2 separate regions of the Homo sapiens genome follow, and region 2 is linked to region 1. Evidence: promoter capture Hi-C in 16 types of primary human blood cells and fetal thymus (Javierre and others, 2016). All regions are on one chromosome and are shown on one strand. Each heading gives the region's core, a stretch centred on a gene start or on the middle of the fragment in contact. The rest is flanking DNA. Distances are from core to core; before and after follow the strand shown. Region 1 holds the start of TFB2M (transcription factor B2, mitochondrial). Region 2 holds the start of ZNF669 (zinc finger protein 669).

Region 1 (3,140 bases), core at 469-2,968:
ACAGCATCCGCAAAGTAGATGTCACTCTCCTTTTTACATATAAGGAAACAGGAGATTATATATACTTATTTGACTCCAGCGTCAAAAGTGATGCAGCTTGGCTTTGAAATCATTGTCAGCGACTGCAAAACCTGCACTCTTTTTTTTTTTTTTTTGAGACGAAGTCTCACTCTGTCACCCAGGCTGGAGTGCAGTGGGGCAATCTCGGCTCACTGCAACCTCTGCCTCTTGGGTTCAAGCGATTCTCCTGCCTCAGCCTCCCGAGTAGCTGGGATTACAGGCGCCCGCCACCACGCCCGGCTAATTTTTGTATTTTAAGCAGAGACGGAGTTTCACCATGTTGGCCAGGCTGGTCTGGAACTCCTGACCTCAAGGGAACCACTCGCCTCGGCCTCTGAAAGTGCTGGATTACAGGCGTGAGCCACCGCACCAGGTCAAAACTTGCACTCTTCATCACCATGATTCACTACCTCTTAGAAGAAAAAAGTCACAGCAAAATAGATTGCCTCTAGCCTATCACTTCCTCACGGACTACACGGATGCTTTAACCATCAAAGAGATTGTCAAGCCTAAACAGAACTGACTCCCTGTGATATGAAATGGTGCTTTAAAAAACTATCATTCAAAAAGCCTATAAATCTTGTGTTCTTAGCATCCTGCTATGGTCTATAGGGAATGCACGGAAGAATAAGATAACATCATTTTTTCAGCTGGCAGAGGCTTGCAACTCTTTTGGGGAGATAAGATCTAAGAGCATGTTTTATCAAAATATTGTGTAAAGTGCAAGCTGCTACAGAAATACTTTGTGGTGTCATTAACGATACAGACTCTACGCTTATGTAGTGGGCAATCTCTCCAACTAAGGAGCTTCAAACAAAGACCCGTATCTGGACGGGCGCAGTGGCTCACGCCTCTAATCCCAGCATTTTGGGAGACCTAGGGGGGAGGATCACGAGGTCAAGAGATCGAGACCATCCTGGCCAACACGGCGAAATCCCGTCTCTAGTAAAAATAAGAAAATTAGCTGGGCGTGGTGGCGCGCGCCTGTAGTTCTTGCTACTCGGGAGGCTGAGGCAGGAGAATCGCCTGAACCCGGTACGCGGAGGTTGCAGGGAGCCGAGATCGCCCCACTGCACTCCAGCCTGGCAACACAGCGAGACTCCGTCTCAAAGCAAAAGAACAACAAAAAAGACCCCCCAGTATCTAAAATAGCACCCCGAGGAGGGTCAATACGTTTGAATAAATGATGAACATCCAAGAAAATGCAATTCAGCTGGACTCACCTGGATTGCACTCCAGCAGTAGGTGTGGAGGTCTACTTGGTTTTCCCAAATAGATTTGCGCCAGGGTCTCAGCCAATCTCCGATCGGTTACGTAACGCTTAAAGTCTAAGCTGGCCTTAGACGCCTTCCTTGGCGGATTCCTGAAATCCGGTTCGGGCCACAGCTGCGGAGAGGAGTCAGAGAGCCCACAGTGGTTCCTCGCCGGCAAATGCTTTCGCGTCGCCGCTTCAGACCCTAAAATGCAAAAGCGACCAGCGCCCGCCAAGGCGGAGAGCCTCAGCCGCCGAGGAAGCCCGACCACTGGGATCCACATGTCCTTGTCTCTCAGGCCCGCTCCAAGAATCACCTAGTGCAGCTACTACAGTGAACCCCACGCAGGGTATCCCACGTGGAACATTTTCTGGCGTCCGGGCCAGGTCAAGCGGAAGTAAACACTAGAGCCTGCGCATGCGAACAGCGGAGCCTTCCTGCTTTTCTCCCTCACTTCCGCTTCCGCCTCGGCTCAGCCGCCCGAGGATTGTGAGTGGACCGTTGAGGAGAGCGACCGACCATCCGGCTGGTGTCCGGACTCGTACTCTATGGTTGTCCGCGCTCTGCGCTTCCTCTCTAGCCGCCAGTGCTCTATGCTCCGCGGTCGCGGGCCGCCAGCCTCCAGCCGGCCAGCCGCGAGGGGTGCGCAGAGGGAGGCGGGGCGGAAAGGCGAGAGGTGTCTCCTCCACCGGAGCCAGGGGAGACCCGAGCAAGCTCCGTGACAGCACGTCGGCCGCCATGTCGCCGAGTGGGGCTGGAAACAGACCCGGCGCCCAGCGGTAGCCCTCCTTGCGCCTCCGATTCCCAGGTGAGGAGAGGAGGAGCGGGATGCAGGGGACCCGCCGGCTCGCGGCCGGGATGGAAAGCCTTTCGGAAGCCTCTCGCTCCTCCCCCTGCGCTGTCCTCCTCCAGCCGCGCAGCCTCTGCCCTCCGGGTGAGGTGTAGCCCGGTCCCCTTACCTCCTCCGCCTCTCAGGTCGCCTGTTTTCCTCTCCTTTCTCAGCTACTGTGGGTCTCCTATTGCTGCGCGTCGCGCCAATTTCTCCCTCCCTAGGGGACTAGCGCCAGAAGTCGTTCCTCACCCGGCTCCTGGAGGAGCCTGCGGCTTCCACGGTCTCCGTTCCTTTCTGTTGTGTGGCCCACAGCCCGCTCTCCCCACCCTCGTGGATGGTTTTCATTTCCCCCCCACACCTGGTCCCCCCCATCACTACCACTTTGGTTGTCAAGAACCGCGTGGTGTCTCCCTTCCATTCCTCTCTCTGGGCCAATATTTTCCTTAATTTTTTCAGTTTGTGTGTTTAAAAGACTTAAAGTTAAGATTAAAAATGAAGATGTAAAAGCTTACAATTCCTTTCTAAGCTTAAAAAGATTAAGACTTTAGGATGCTTACTGTATTCCTTATGTAAACTTAGTCAAACACATCGTACTGTGGAATGCGATTTAAAAGACCCAATTTTGAAGACTAAAAATAGGATGCTGTAATGGAAATTTTGGCAGTCTTTTTTTTTTTACCTATTGGGCAATGTTAGAAGACACGGTTCTTTGAGAGTGTTTTCCGTGTTTCAGGATCAAACTTAGAGCTTTTACCCATTATCCTTACCACCAAGGCAAGAAACGGCAGCCAATCAACTCCGTGTCTTAGAATACGTACAATCCTTTCTGCTTACTCTACTGAGAGTGTAATTGAGTTTGGCATTTAAATGCACGAGGAAAAGGTTCCTAAGGAATGTATCACCCAGCAAATAGTCTGAAGATTATACTCATCTGATGAAGCTCAAGCGGATAAAGAATTGACAACTAAATATGACCTTTTGTGTATTATAAATTT
Region 2 (3,140 bases), core at 171-2,670, 540 kb after region 1:
GACATTAATGTCACCACTTCCAGATGCTATTCCTGTGAAATCACATAAATTCCCAAATCAGGCTTTTTTAGGCAAGAAAAACTAGTTTTTCATACCTAGTAAAAATGACAAATGTCTAATGATTTTCAGTCATCTAAAAAAAGAGTTATGTCTTGCCTAACATACTTTTAAGATTTTCAACCAAAAATATTCAGGACAGCACAGTATTAGCAGAGAGATGAGCAAGCAGACCAAGGGCTGAGGACACAACACCCTGTAAAGTTTTCACAGGGGGACATCAACCTAAAGACATTTTGGTAATATGCACACTTAGGAAAGATGAAGAGAGGCACAAAGATTTTTTTACAGTAGAGTGTCAGATGGTTTATTCTCCGCTTTCCTCTCATGTAAAATGTTTGTAAACAGAAAAATATTTTGGCCGAGCGCGGTGGCTCACGCCTGTAATCTCAGCGCTTTAGGAGGCCGAGACGGGCGGATCACTTAAGGTCAGGAGTTCGAGACCAACCTAGCCAACATGGCGAAACCCTGTCTCTACCAAAAATACAAAAATTAGCTGGGCGTGGTGGCGGGCGCCTGTAATCCCAACTACTCGGGAGGCTGAGGCAGGAGAATCGCTTGAACCCGGGAGTCAGAGGTTGCAATGAGTGAGACTGCATCATTGCACTCCAGCCTGGCGACAGGGCGAGATTCCGTCTCCAAAAAAAAAAAAAAAAAAAAAAAAAAAGAATATGGTTTGCTTCCTCATTAACCTTATCAAAGCCTCTCATTTACGCCCCTTCTGTGGACCCCAAACCACAAACCATGACTGCGGTACCTGGTTTATGAATCGCCGTTTGCTCAAACACACGGTTTAACGTTTTAACAAAGCCTCGGCTTAATTTTAGGGGAAGAAAGGTGGGACTGGAAGCCCCATGAACCACAGCTCCTCCCATGCTGGAACCCCGCACACCGAGACACCGAGTCGGGGCTCTCCCGCATCACCCTCCCGTGGTCACCACACTACCTGGATAGGGGAGGCGAGGGGTTCCCGACAGGGCTCCGGCCGGCGGAAGTGGCGCCCGCAGGTACAGACAGGATGCAGGGGTTCCGCTGCCCGCCCCGCCCGGCCCGGCCCTGAACAGAAGAGGACTGAGCCCCGGCTACGCCACGGCGACTCGGTCCGCAGGTTCCGGAGCCGATGGCGTGGAGGCCCGAGTCGCGCCACAGCAGGTTTCAACCAGCCCTCTTCTCCACTTCGGGAAGCCAGGCGCAGTCCACTCACCATTCCTCGGCTTCCCGGGTGTCCTGGCGTCAGCTAGGGATGTCCCAATACTCGCAGGTCACAGGGTGGCAGAGGCTGCTGCAGAGCCACCTGGGCCTCCCAGAGCCAAGAACTAGCAGCGGAGACTAACAGGAAGAGCCGGCTCCGGCGAAGGAGAGACAAAGCAACCGCCAGGCAGATCCCGGAAGCCGCCCTCTCCTTTCCGGCGGCGCGCCTGATTGAACGGTCCCCACCCCAGCGCCCCTGATTGGATGGGGCTTCAGGCCCCGCCCCTCAGGCCCTGAGTGACAGGAGATTGCGATCTCACGTGAGGCTGGATGAGGTCAGAATGACCGCTTTTGGCCTAGCGGTTTGTAGGCGGTGCGTCCTTCCTGCGCTGGGATCCGACCATGCAAGAAGGACATTCACATTTAACCTGTATACAAGTTATAGCTATTTGTGCCTTTTATATATATATATATATATAAAATTGGAAGCAATATAATGACAGTTCTGTAACTGCCCAGGGAGTTCACCTTGCCCGCTACCTAGACAGAGCCGATTTCTCAAGACAGGGGAATAGCAATAGAGAAAGAGTAATTCACGCAGTGTCCTCTGTGCGGGAGACCGGAGTTTTTTTATTTTATTTTATTTTTTTGAAACAGAATCTTGCTCTGTCTCCCAGGCTGGAGTGCAGGCTTGGAGTTTTATGATTATTCAAATCAGTCTCCCTGAGCATTTGGGGTAAGAGTATTTAGAACGTTTATTTTGCCAAGGTTGGGGATGCATATGCATGACACAGCCTCAGGATGTCCTTGATGACATGTGCCCAAGGTGGTCAGAGCACAGCTTGGTTTTGTTGGAGAGAAATGCTCGGTGCCGCAAAGTGAAACCAGCACTCAAGCGAAAGTTTTCTCAGCAACGCAATTTACTTCTGCAGAAGCGTGCTGCTCGCATCAATCACGATCGCAAGAGCACACTGAACAGAGGAAAGCAGGGGTTTTTATTCCTAACGCAGTCCCTACCTCTGGCATGGGCTGGGGTCAGACCGCACGATCTAAACTGACCCGGTTGGCTATTTGTGAATATTTTCCCAAATAAGGAAGGGGGAAGGGGGATGTGAGTTACAATGGTGGGACTTGCGGTTTCCAAGGGAGAAATGGGTGCAGAGCAGGTAACCAAGGGAACAGATGTGAGTTATTGATTAGAACTGACGGAAGGTTGTTTACAGTAACTAAGGGCAAGGAGGCATGGAGAACAAGAAAGTTGAGTTCGAAAACAAAAAAACAAGAAAGTTAACATGCCAAACCTTGGAAGAGAAACTGACTGTATCTGACAGCTTTATACATTTTAGGGAAACAGGAGACATCAATCAACATATGTAAGATGAACACTGGTTTGATCCGGGACAACCTGAAGCAAAAGCGGGTCAACTCGAAGCCAGGAGGGGGCTTCCAGGTCACAGGTAGGTGAGAGACAAACGGTTGCATTCTTTTGAGTTTCTGATTAGCCTTTCCAAAGGAGGCAATAAGATATGCATTCATCTCAGTGAGCAGGGGATGACTCTGAATAGAATGGGAGGCAGGTTTGCCCTAAGCAGTTCCCAGATTGACTTTCCCCTTTAGCTTAGTGATCTGGGGGGCTCAAAACATTTTCCTTTCCAATTTCCCCCTTTTCTTTTAAAAATATTTTGGAGAAAGCATTTTAGAAGAAAATCAGTCTCTGGTCCCAGGTTTTGTCCAATCTCTCATGGAGTAGCTGGGATTACAGGCACTGGACACCACGCCTGCCTAATTTTTTTTTTTTTTTTTTCGTAGAAATGGGGTCTCCCTCAGTTGCCCAGGCTGGTCTCTGGTGCCCAACGCCGGGCTCCCGGTAATCTCTACAAATAATCCAGTGA

What was found. Contacts are between HindIII fragments. The CHiCAGO score rates a contact against its expected background, and 5 or more counts as called.
Region 2: a contact is called between the fragment with the promoter of ZNF669 here and the fragment with the promoter of TFB2M in region 1, in 4 of 17 cell types (total CD4 T cells, non-activated CD4 T cells, neutrophils and 1 more). The highest score is 6.9, in total CD4 T cells.

What each region holds. Positions count from the first base shown.
Region 1 is chr1:246,564,543-246,567,682 of GRCh38, forward strand. TFB2M (transcription factor B2, mitochondrial) reads right to left here and starts at 1,719. Exons shown (of 8, transcript NM_022366.3): 1 at 1,284-1,719. The coding sequence starts at 1,596. It overlaps CNST (consortin, connexin sorting protein), which reads left to right and starts at 1,914. Exons shown (of 11, transcript NM_152609.3): 1 at 1,914-2,121. RefSeq lists enhancers at 1,409-1,688, 1,919-1,978, 2,019-2,518. The HindIII fragment of the contact is 6,532 bases long and covers 1-2,650 here.
Region 2 is chr1:247,102,936-247,106,075 of GRCh38, forward strand. ZNF669 (zinc finger protein 669) reads right to left here and starts at 1,421. Exons shown (of 4, transcript NM_001142572.2): 1 at 1,262-1,421. The coding sequence starts at 1,264. It overlaps FLJ39095 (a long non-coding RNA gene), which reads left to right and starts at 1,576. Exons shown (of 3, transcript NR_147502.1): 1 at 1,576-2,705; 2 at 3,058-3,140. RefSeq lists an enhancer at 1,372-1,666. The HindIII fragment of the contact is 5,762 bases long and covers 1-3,140 here.